Regions from separate parts of the Homo sapiens genome. Here region 2 is linked to region 1. The links are contacts of gene promoters, found by promoter capture Hi-C in blood cells and fetal thymus (Javierre and others, 2016). All regions are on one chromosome and are shown on one strand. Each heading gives the region's core, a stretch centred on a gene start or on the middle of the fragment in contact. The rest is flanking DNA. Distances are from core to core; before and after follow the strand shown. Region 1 holds the start of FOS (Fos proto-oncogene, AP-1 transcription factor subunit). Region 2 overlaps LINC02288 (long intergenic non-protein coding RNA 2288).

Region 1 (5,991 bases), core at 194-2,693:
GGCTTGGAGCCAGGGCTCCCAGTTACGGATGTGCAGCCAGCCCCATCAGTGGCTTCATCCTCTGTACTGGGCTCCTGCATCTCCGGGGCTGCTTCCCACCCAGCCCCCACATTCCCAGGAAGAGTACGCTAGAGTTCCTCACCTGTTCCACCTTGCCCCTCCTGCCAATGCTCTGCGCTCGGCCTCCTGTCATGGTCTTCACAACGCCAGCCCTGGAGTAAGCCCCAGCGGAGGGGGCGGGGACTCCGAAAGGGTGAGGGGCTCTGGTCTGCGATGGGGCCACGGAGGAGACGAGGGCGGGCTGCACCAGCCACTGCAGGTCCGGACTGGTCGAGATGGCAGTGACCGTGGGAATGAAGTTGGCACTGGAGACGGCCAGGTCCGTGCAGAAGTCCTAGAACAAAACAGAAGGGGAAAGCCGACGTGAGCGAGCAGGTTCCGGACACAGGTGGGGCGAGTTCCCAGTGCCGCATGCAGCAGTGAAGAGAAACGATCCTGCCACGGACATTTCATCTTAAATGTCCCTCATCCTGGATGAAAGGTCTCCCCCTTTTCCTCCCAGGCATTCCGCAGCGCAGTGCCTGTCTCTTCCATCCTGCCGCTGCGTTCCCGTTATCCCTTCAGCATCACTTGCTTGAAAGGGGGTTTGTTATAAATATCCCTGACGTCTGCGCTGACGCAGGCGCCGCTCCGGAGTCTCCAGAATGAACTCGCTTTTTATCAATGAAACTGCCTTACACACCCGCCCGCTGCACCCTCCTCCCTCATCCCTCCTCCGTGCTCCAGGCTGCCGGGGGAGGGGGGATTGCCGCTTTCTGCCACCTCCCCGGAGAAGCCAGGCTCTAGTTAGCGAGTTTGTGCTTGGGACACGTCTGCTCCAGCTAATGTCAGAGATCCGTCCTGGAGTGCAGACCAGAGGTTGCTCAGAACGAACCTGCCTCCCGAAGGGGGAACCAATTCTTACTATGGCAAGCGTGCGTGCGCTCAGAGCAAGTCCCGAGCCCCCGAGCCGGCACCGCTCCGGCCACGGCAGCCTCCCTCCAGGCACAAGGGAGCCCCCTACTCATCTACTGGAGCGTCCCGCCCGGTGTCTCCTCCTCCGCGACCCCAAGCCCCCGGCCCCGCGGCGACGGGAAGCCAGCCTTACCTGCGCGTTGACAGGCGAGCCCATGCTGGAGAAGGAGTCTGCGGGTGAGTGGTAGTAAGAGAGGCTATCCCCGGCCGGGGACGCGCTGCTGCAGCGGGAGGATGACGCCTCGTAGTCTGCGTTGAAGCCCGAGAACATCATCGTGGCGGTTAGGCAAAGCCGGGCGAGGGGCCGAGGGGCGGAGACAGGTGGGCGCTGTGGAGCAGAGCTGGGTAGGAGCACGGTCACTGCTCGTTCGCTGCGCCGCGGCCGCCGGCTCAGTCTTGGCTTCTCAGATGCTCGCTGCAGATGCGGTTGGAGTACGAGGCGCCGCAGCCACTGCTTTTATAACAAGCGTTTTATGAATGAGTGTAAACGTCACGGGCTCAACCACGGTGGCGCCAGAGGGGTGGCGCGCGGGCCTGGGCGCTTCTGCGGCCGCCCGGCTGCGTCCCCAGCGCTCGCAGCTCCCTGCCCCCGCCTTGGCGCGTGTCCTAATCTCGTGAGCATTTCGCAGTTCCTGTCTCAGAGGTCTCGTGGGCCCCCCAAGATGAGGGGTTTCGGGGATGGCTCCCCCCAGGGCTACAGGGAAAGGCCGTGGAAACCTGCTGACGCAGATGTCCTAATATGGACATCCTGTGTAAGGGGGGAGGGATTGACGGGAACTGCTCGCGGGCTGCAGCCAACACCGAGGGTGCAGTGCGGGGGGAGGCGGGGGCCGCGGCTGGGGGAGGGGAGGCGGGAACGGCGCAGAATGAGAGAGAACATTCGCACCTGGTTCAATGCGGACCCTTGTTCCCGAGGTCGGGGGGGATGGGGCAGAGAGCGCCTTTTTACCCTTGTACGGAAACTGAAGACAGTTCTGAGGCTCAGAGATAGGAGAAACGGCATCGAGTACAGGACCCCGAGGACTTAAGCCTCGGCTCCCGAAGGAATGCGCCCCTACCCCCATCCCCAATTCTAGCCCTAATTCAGTGCAAAGCGTGGAAGCAGACCTTCATCCCCTAACCTCCAGCCCTCGGGCTCGAGCAATACTAGCACTGTTCCTGCGTTTGGAAGCAGAAAGTGGAGGATCCAAAATAAGAGAATACGATAACCTACTTTACGATACTGGGTACTTTATTTATTTATTTTTTTAAAGAAGACAGCGCATTTATTTATTTATTTTTCTCGGCCATGTGTGGGAATATTAAGGAAACTGTCAAATCCCTGAGACACCAGCAGATAAACACTGTGCAAAACCTACGTGCGAAGACATTTGAAGGGGGTGTCTGCCCGGTTCTGAGCTGGGCCCCAGGGGTAGGGAGTGCGAGGTGTGGTTATGTGGGCAGGGTGGTCAGTTCGGGATGACAAGGCGGGGTGTGCTTCCTGCGGGGAACTCAAATCTGCGCTGAGGGCTGGTTCGGTCCCGCCAGGAAGCTGTGCTTACGGGAGCCCGCAGCGGGTGATTTTCCAGCGCGGACTTGGAGGGTGGAGGACGGGGGCTGGAAGGACAGTGTCCAGCTGCGCCTGGGCGGAATACCTCGACTGCTGGGACCCCAGGAGCGGCTCCACGTCCTGGAACACGGGGCTTTGGGGAGGCAAGGTGCTCCAGAGTGTGCCACGCCCCCCAATCTCCTGCCCTGCTGCGTAGGACAGCCGGGGTCACGCTGCCGGGGCTCAGCCCCAGCGCGCTGGCCACCTCCAGGGCGCGAAGACGCATGTCCCCGCACAGCCCCGGTCTTCCCTTCTCCACTCTTCGGGCCCGGGGGTCGGGGCCCGCGGTGGGCACCTGGAGAGGGGCGAGGCAGGATGAGGCCGGCGGGCGGATAGTTCGGGGCGCGCGGGGAGCCGGACCGCAGACCTGCCTCCAGCCGCCGCGCCCGGGAGCCAGGAGATCCTGCTATAGATAGTAACAGGGAAGCGGCTGTTTACAGCAACACAGCGCCGCCAGGGCCGTCTCCAGGCAACGCCGCGCGGCCGGGCGCGCCGTCGGCCTGGCGAGGCCACCCTCCCTCCCAGCTCCCCTGGGCCGCGGCCTCCCCGGCCCGGCCGCGGCCGCTCCCGTCGCCTGACATCATCCGCCGGGTCCGGGGGCTGAGCGGCCCGCGCGAGGCTGTGCGCTAACCTCCATTCTTAGAGATCCAACCCGGCAGGAGCGGGGAGGGCAGGAGGCGGGGATTCGTGGAACTGGGCCACTTGCTATTTTTGCATTCCCTGTCACAGGCAGAGGTGAAAACAGAATTTCATCATTGTATGTCATTGGTTTATGTTGGTGGGAATTTAGGCGCTTTTTTTTCTCACTCATAAAAAGGGAGGGAAACGGAAAAACACACATAATACGTAAACACAGATTCCTTGGAGCTGCTCTGAATCCTAAAGCAATTCTGCGGCCTTCGGTACTTCTAATTCTATCCTTGATTACAGAAAGAAAGAGGGGGACGGGAGGGAAAGGGGTTATGAAGCCAAATACATCTCTCTTATTATTAATATTAGCTTCAGACAAAATAGGTCAAGCTTTGAATTCCTGAGTCTGGCCATGACTGCCATTCACAACTAGATCTCAGGCCACTTAACAGGAAACCTGACTGGGTGCGGTGGCTCACTCCTGTAATTCCTGCACTTTGGGAGCCCGAGGCGGGTGGATCACTTGAGGCCAGGAGTTCGAGACCAGCTTGGCCATCATGGTGAAACTCTGTCCCTGCTAAAAATACAAAACAGCCGGGTGTGGTGGCGCACGCCTGTAGTCCCAGCTACTCAGGAGGCTGAGGCAGGAGAATTGCTTGAACCCGGGAGGCAGAGGTTCCTGTGAGCCGAGATCGTGCCACCGCACTCCAGCCTGGGCAACAGAGCAAGATTCTGTCTCCAAAAGAAAAGAAAAGAAAACCTAGAATGATTTGATTTACTTCCCTTTCAGGTCCAAAGCATCTCGGCCAATACCTAAAAGATGTGTCAAGATTTTATATCCAGGATTTATCTCAAATACACTTATCCTGCCTTTGCCAATTAAAAAAAAAAAAAAGAAGAAGGGTCTTTGAGTGAGCCTATTTCCTCCAGATAGCTTAACTCTTTCCTTCTGGCACCATTATGACCAGAGTTGGAGACTTACTAAATCCATCCTCTGGAAAGGACAAACTAAGTCCATCCTCTGGAAAGGACAAACCATTATTTAACAAATAATTTTGTTCAATTATTTATTTAACAAAACTATTGACTGGGCTGGAGGCTGGTGCTCACTGTAATGAAGAGGGTAGGCCTGTCCCGACCCTCAGAGAGATTCCAGTCTCATAGGAAGACCAACAAGTCAATCGAGCTTACAGGGTAGCAGTAAGTGGTTTGAAAGAGGTAAGAAAGGGGTGCCAGGCAACACAGAAGAAGGCTTGGAAACAGGTCCCAGAGGAGGTGACTGCAATACAGAGATGGGGCTCAGATCCTCTGTCCTCTGGATAATGGAATGATAAAGATTGAGTAAGGCCAGAGCATCATCCAGGCAAACCAAGTGCTCAACCAGAAGCCACAGTATAGGCCAATACAATCTCAGACTCCCTCTCCTGCCCCACTAACATCCGAACCTGTGATCATTCTAACATATTCTCACATCTCAATCTGCTCATGGTATCCATTTCAGGACTGCAAAATCACATTCTAAAAAGTGGAGCTCACACAAGGTAGCCTAAAAATGAAGACAAATCAGAACAAACATGTGAAATTATTTTTGCCATTTGCAGATCTGCAGGTCAGGGTGACTTTGAGACAGGTGCTTGTGTGCCTCCGTGAGCACGGCGCTGCCTTCCAACAGGGCAGGGATTTCATGCTCTGGACAAGTCTGAGCATATAAAACCAAAATGTGTGTAGTTCATGATTATCTATGTGCTGAGTTCCTCCTATCTGGGGATCCAAAAGTGAAAAGGAGGGTAGAATTCCACATCTGAATTTTAACCCAAATTGAAAAAAAATTCACTTTCCCTCTACAGTGTTTCCTCATCCGATAGACTTTTCCTACTTTGCACTCTCCCTGTGGCACTTGAAGGAGACCTGACCCCACACTTTTGAAGTCAGTGCACATTGTTTAGCCTGGTGTTATTGCAACATTAAGTGAAAGGCTGCTGTCTGTACCGCCTACGTAAATGCTGCCGCACACAGCCCATCCCCAGCATGCAGAAGTAGTTGTTTATTTGGGGAAGTCTGGTCTAGTGGTGAAGGGTTGTGGTCAAAGCACGGGACCAGAAGTCAGGAAGATGCATATACCGAAATCAACTTAGACTTGTTTGGTAACTTTTCGCCTTTGTCTTGTTCATGTGCTGATATTCACTTAGGATCTAGCACAGTGCCTGAAACATAGTAGGTGTTCAATAAATACCCCTTTTCTTTTTCTTTTTCTTTCTTTTTTTTGAGACAGGGTCTCACTCTGTTACCCAGGCTGGAGTGCAGTGGTGTGATTATAGCTCACTGCAGCCTTGAACTCCTAGGCTCAATGCCCCTACCTCAGCCTCCCAAGTAGCTAGGACCACAGGCACATACCACCATGCCCAGCTAATTTTTTATTTTTTGTAGAGATGGGGTCTCGCTATGTTGCCCAGGCTAGCCTTAAGCTCCTGGCCTCAAGTGATCCTCCCACCTCTGCCTCCCAAAGTGCCGAGATTACAGGCGTGAGCCACCAGGTCTGGCAATAAATATCTCTTGAATGGATGAATGAATGCATGTCCTCATCCAGCCAAGGTGAATGTAGACGGTTGTGCTTTTTGGGTACTTAGAAAGCAAATAGATAATGTTCTTTAAATCTTTGGAAAGGCTGAACAGGCTCTTTTATTCTGGGATATGAATAGGCAAAAATTGGGAAAGACAAAATTACAAGATGTTTGGGCTATTTTCAGCTGGTACAGCCT
Region 2 (6,241 bases), core at 3,499-5,998, 1.8 Mb before region 1:
TCCCGCCACTTCACTCCAGCCTGGGTGACAGAGTGAGACTGTGTCTCAAAAAAAAAAAAAAAAAAAAAAAAAAAAAAAGAAAGAAAGACAATTGTTTCTCTCTCTCTCATGTTTTAAGATTGAGAAAATATGGCCAGGCGCGGTGGCTCACGCCTGTAATCCCAGCACTTTGGGAGGCCGAAGCGGGCGGATCACGAGGTCAGCAGATCGAGACCATCCTGGCTAACACGGCGAAACACCGTCTCTACTAAAAATACAAAAAATTAGCCGGGCGTGGTGGCGGGCGCCTGTCGTCCCAGCTACTCGGGAGGCTGAGGCAGGAGAACCGCGTGAACCCGGGAGGCAGTGCTTGCAGTGAGCGGAGATCGCGCCACTGCACTCCAGCCTGGGCGGCAGAGCAAGACTCCGTCTCAAAAAAAAAAAAAAAGAAAAAAAAAAAAAGATTGAGAAAATATGAAAATATTTCCTAAAACAAGCCCCCAACTCCCATGTCTTATTCACCAGAACTCGGTCACAGATCCATCCCCAAAGTGTTAGCAAGGGGGATGGGATGCTAAGATTAGCTCAGACTAATTGGGATTTCCCCCCAAGGCACGTGGAACTGAGGGGTGTGGGACTCCTGAAACAAATTCAGGGCACTAAGGAAGAAAGCAGGAGTGACTACTTTTTAGCAATCAACAGTGTCTGCCTCATGGGTAATTAATGTTATCTTCATTTTACAGGTGGGAAAACTGAGGCTGAGATAAAGTAATGACTTAATGGCACAGTAAGAGACCAAGTTACGATTTCAACCCAGAAATACTTGATTCCAAAGCCCCAACTCTACTGCATGATATACTAAGCACTATTATATCTCTACTTCTGAGTAGAATGCTCCAAGATTTTGCTGGGACAGGAAGGGTATAAATAGTACATACATACATACACTTCCATATTATTTTGGTGACAATAAAATTACGTCATAAAAATGTATATTTAGGCATGTTTAATTGACTAGCCTTTATTTAGGGGCTTCTAGAGGCATTCGGGATAGAATGGCCCCAGCATTGAACTTCATTGAGTCCCCAGTGAGGCAGTGTGAACAGATAACTACAACTTTTTTTTTTTTTTTTTTTTTGAGACAGAATCTCACTCTTTCTCCCAGGCTGGGGTGAAATAGTGCGATCTCAGCTCACTGCAACCTCCGCCCCGGGGTTCAAGCGATTCTCCTGCCTCTGCCTCCCGAGTAGCTGGAATTACAGGCGCCCCACACCCGGCTAATTTTTGTATTTTTAGTAGAGACGGGGTTTCACCATGTCGGCCAGGCTGGTCTCGAACTCTTGACCTCAGGTGATCCATCTGCCTCAGCCTCCCAAAGTGCTAGGATTACAGGCGTGAGCCACCACGCCCAGCCAACTACAACTCTTTGTGATAAATGCAGATTGCAATTGAAGCACAGAGCTGGGAAATGCCAGAGACTATTTTCACAGGAAAGGTAAAAACTGAGCTGGGTTTTGAAGGATGCATAGAAGTTTGCTCAAAAAACAAGAGGGAGAAAACATTCTTTGTAGGTAGAGAAAAGAGCCCCGTAAAGGCACGGGGCTTCAAAGTTCATATTGTGTTTAAGGAACAAGAGGAATTCAATGTGGTTAGAAATTAAGAAAAAGGAAGAGGCAAAAAGAGGAATTGGAGGCAATTTCCCAGAGGCCTTGTGTTCCAAGCTAAGGAGTTTGTCTTGATCCTGTAAGGCGCCTGGAAAATTTTTATTTATTTATTTTTATTTTTTATTTTTTTGAGATGGAGTCTCGCTCGGTCGCCCAGGCTGGAGTGCAGTGGTGCGATCTCGGCTCACTGCAACCTCTGTCACCTGGGTTCAAGCGATTCTCCTGCTTCAGCCTCCTGAGAGGCTGAAATTACAGGTGCGCACCACCACGCCCAGCTAATTTTTGTATTTTTAGTAGAGACGGGGTTTCACCGTGTTGGTCAGGCTGGTCTCAAACTCCTGACCTCGTGATCCACCCTCCTTAGCCTCCCAAAGTGCTAGGATTACAGGCGTGAGCCACCACACCCTGCCTTAAAGCAATGTTGTAAGGCAGGTTTAGGCTAAATTACATGAAATTGCCAATATTTGATGTGTCTAACAATGAAAACAGATGAGGAAGCCTGGAGGTGCAGAAACTTGGCACAGGTCACAAAGTCTCATGAGTCAAGAATCAAACCCAGATCTGTCTGATAAGGCCTCTAGAGTCAGGCAACCCTGAGTTCAAACTTCAGCCAACACTTACTAGCTGTGTGTCCTAAGATAACGTTATTTAACCTTTCTGAGTTTCAGTTGCTTCATCTATAAAATGGGGACGATAACTGAATCCACTTCATTAAGTGTGGATTAGAAGAGATAATGCATTGAAACAGCCAGCACAATGTCCAACACATAAGAGGTGCCCAATAAATGTCAGCCTTGCCTATCATCATTGCTATTAATATCCTAAAGTCTGGGCTGTTAAGCACCTTCCCAACCTGCTGTAGGAAAGATGCTTTCCGGAGTCGGTATGTCCCTGGGTAGAAAGGAAGGAGATTTTACTGCCAGAACCACGACAGTGCTGCTGGTAACAGTCTTCAAACTAACGGGGCGAGGAGAGCTGGGAGCTGTGTCCTCTAGTTTCTATCACCACAACCCTCTGATTGTTTCACCTCTCCTGAGGTTCTCCTGGCCACAGTGGGTGCAGCAGCCCTACCATTGCAGAGTGGCTGGCAGCTCTGCCCTCGCCCAGGGCATTCTCCTTAAGGAGCAACTTCTGTCTCCTTTGCCCGTGAACCAACCTGAATGAAGTGTATTTCCAGGAAATATAAGCTGCCTTTGCTTTCAAGAGTCACATCTGGCCAGGTGCAATGGCTCACGCCTGTAATCCCAGTACTTTGGGAGACCAAGGTGAGCAGATCACCTGAGGTCAGAAGTTTGAGACCAGCCTGGCCCAATGGTGAAACCCCATCTTTACTAAAAATACAAAAATTAGCCAGGCATGGTGGCGTGCGCCTGTAATCCCAACTACTCGGGAGGCTGAAACAGGAGTATCACTTAAGCCCAGGAGGTGGAGATTGCAGTGAGCCAGATCATGCCACTGCACTCCAGCTTGGGCGACAGAGCAACACCCTGTTTCAAAAAAAAAAAAAAAAGCCACATCTATCAGTGATGGGTCCTGCAGGTCCCCCTTGCTCTTGTACCTCATCTATGCACACCTCCCCAGTAGCTTTCTGGTTTTGTGTATAGACAGATGTTTCTGATATATGCGTGCATGCAGTTCTGTGTGTGTTTTCTGGGCTCAAAAGCATCTGCGCTGGCACAGGCTGAAGGCTGGCACCACCCTTGGCAGCAATAGCCCAAGGACACTTTTTTGTCCATTGCATTCCATGTCTGGGTGGGGCCCCTGCCTGCTGGGTAAGTATTGACTCCCTGCACTTTTCCATCTATATCTTGGAGTGTTCTTTTGGCAGAAACTACAAGTGCTGCTAACTTGAGAGTCCAAACCCCAGCACCCAGCTGTTCTCAGCATATCTCCCTGAGATGGGGTGCTTGGGCTCACGGACTGACATCATGGCAGCTGCCATAATAAAACACTGAAGGGGTGGGGAACAGGCAGGCTCACTAAGCCACACCTTGCTTTCAGAACTTTTGGATGTCCACAGATCTTTTTAGCACTGTCTGCCCTCTTTTGTGGCTGCATTCTTGCACAAGACCTGGTTGCCCCTAGCTTCGTCTCTCTGAAAAACATGTTCAGCTCCCTCCAGAGAAAACTCAGAAACTCCTATGCATTTTCCTGGAATCATTCTATAGCTCCAGCCTGGGAAAGCTTCCAAAAGTTTCCTGAACCAAAGATAATAATAATAAAAGAGGTGAGGGAGGGGAGAATCGTGGGCACACAATTCTGTTGATTAATGTGCAAGGGAACAGACTAGGATTGTAGGGAAAGGAAAAAGAAAGGCTTTTCCAGGTCAGTTTAAACATTTGTGTTGTCTTCTTTAAAGGCAATTTCAAAATAGTTGGCCTCCCCAAAGCGATTTTTTGGAATCTACCCAGAGGGCAGAAAATGAACCCTTCCTTCCCCCATCTGGAAAGTCTTCACACCAGTGGCCCCACTCATTCCTGAGCTCTGGCTTTAGAAGGACTTTCCCAACCTTCCAAGATTCCCTGCCCTCCCTCACCCGCTGACCTATAGGGAGTTATGTTTGCTCCACCCCAAGCAGCTGCATTCCAGCTGTGGAGCTATTATGAAACATTTAGGAATCCTCTGGCTAGAAAGGTAAATGAGGAATATGCCCTAATGACAGCTGAAGGCTGGCTAAAATCTGTAAACAGAGAAGCAGCAAGGAACAAATGCTTGACAGAGGATTCCCTTTACAATTCTATTGTGCAGAAGAGTCAGCTGTTAACTTACAGAAGACCTTCTAGATGGTCTCACAGATAAAAGTGCTGATCAGCTTGACCCCCTACTGTGAATCGCAAGAAATGAAATTCAAACCTATTTGTGAAGATTCAAAAATATTTTCACTTACTCATGATCTCTCATCTTTTTAATTAAAGCACAACATCTTGCTCAAAACAAGCCTTTGAAACAACAAAATAAACAGAACCTTAATTTAGGGATTTGCCAACTGATCTTGACTACTGCTGGCAGGTTATAGCAGCCAGTTAGAAGCAGAACATGGGGTTCCCTGCCCTTCCGAAGATGGTGTCTGCCTGAGGACTCAGAAAAGAGGGGGGCCACAGAGACCCATGAGGATCCTTGAAATACACAGAAGTTGGCCAGACAGGGCAGGGCTGAGCAAATGGCTTTTTAGGCAGCTGAGGCCCTCTGCAGCTGTCAGAACAACTGCCACCAAGCTCTCCTGGTTGAGGTTGCAGCAAGTGCTGCAGTGTTGACCTTATCTTCCGAGACTGCGTTGTGGACACTCAGGTTAACGGCAGTCCACCTTACTATCTAGTTCTAGAACAGTCAGCGGCACCTGCCTAGCTACACGCTGTCTCACCCAAACCATTTCATTTCCTGGGTCTTGCGATTCTGGACTTTTCCACTAGCAACAACTGCCATCCAGCCAGACAGCAACAATGAACCACCACAGGTATGCTTTGAGAATCCAGTATCCAGGGTGGGGAACTCCATATAATCCTCCATTCACGCATGGTGCTAAAAGCAGATATGGAGAATTAGTAGAAGAGGTGCCCTGTGTCCCAGGGGGCCGCCCAGCCACAGTGAAAGCATCTCTCTCTCCCCACTTCTTCCTGCTCCAGTCGTTCTACCTCAAACACTCCCTACAGAGCACCTTTTAACACCTCTGGAGCCACCACTGCCACGTCACCCCTCACCCCCACCCACTGGCCTAACCACCCAATTCTCAGCCAGGTCTTTTGCAGAGCACAGCCTCCATGGTTGCCATGGAGGGTTTCTCCCCCCAGCAGTACCCCTTGGGGCTTTGAGACCCTATAAGGAAAGCACCAGGAAACCCCAAAACATTCTCCCTCCTGAAAACAATGGTTCCCAGTGTCTATGCCAGACACACTCACACCACCCAAAATAGACTCATTGTCCTCTTGCACAACATCCAGGAATTTGGTGAAACTCATCATTTTTCAGGTTACCGATAATGCAAGTTTGGAAACTGAAACAGGAAGGAACACAGGCTGAAAAGCTTTTATCCAGCCCACAGCATTTCTCTCTCCAGATGCAAGATAGTTTTTTTTTTTTTTTTCCCAGCAGTACTTTGGTGGGGTTAAAATTAGCTGGCAGCATTCTGGTCACATGCTAGACAACAAAACAAAAGGGAGTTGTTCCCCCTGCCGCTCCTGAACTGGCCCACGACAGAGTTTCCTAATCCATGGATTTCTGGGAAGCTGGCTCTCCGGGCCCTGGTATGGAGGGGCTACACCAAGGACTCCCCTCCGGTTATCATCCCTGCTATAATGGGGCGACACAGACGAGGTCAAGGCTGTTTGGAATCTTGGAGCTTGCCTCGATCTGGAAAGGCACTCAAGGGTCCAAAATGGCTTTTGTAAATCTTCTCACCAAAGCCAACAAAGAAGCAAACACTACAAAAACACTGAGAGAGAGAAGGGTAACATCTGACACATGAACATGGGCATCCATTGACTTGTGGGGTGGTGGCTGCTCTTGGCATGATTAAAAAAAAAATAGCCGGGTGTGGTGGCTCATGCCTGTAATCCCAGAAACTTTGGGAAGCTGAGGAGGGCAGATCGCCTGAGGTCAGG

Evidence for each region. The method cuts DNA at HindIII sites, captures the fragments that hold promoters and counts their contacts. A CHiCAGO score of 5 or more calls a contact.
Region 2: a fragment that was not itself captured here is called in contact with the fragment with the promoter of FOS in region 1 in 1 of 17 cell types (M0 macrophages); the score reaches 9.5 in M0 macrophages.

Annotation. Positions count from the first base shown.
Region 1 is chr14:75,274,280-75,280,270 of GRCh38, reverse strand. It overlaps FOS (Fos proto-oncogene, AP-1 transcription factor subunit), which reads right to left and starts at 1,443. Exons shown (of 4, transcript NM_005252.4): 1 at 1,148-1,443; 2 at 143-394. The coding sequence starts at 1,288. RefSeq lists enhancers at 1-525, 1,112-1,171, 526-1,453 and silencers at 1,542-1,601, 1,952-2,041, 2,770-3,279. The HindIII fragment of the contact is 6,704 bases long and covers 1-3,624 here.
Region 2 is chr14:77,042,903-77,049,143 of GRCh38, reverse strand. All of the region lies in intron 1 of LINC02288 (long intergenic non-protein coding RNA 2288), which reads right to left. Among named protein-coding and RNA genes, the nearest start is that of LINC02288, 5.0 kb to the right of the region's middle. RefSeq lists enhancers at 4,077-4,587, 4,134-6,241. The HindIII fragment of the contact is 1,837 bases long and covers 3,830-5,666 here.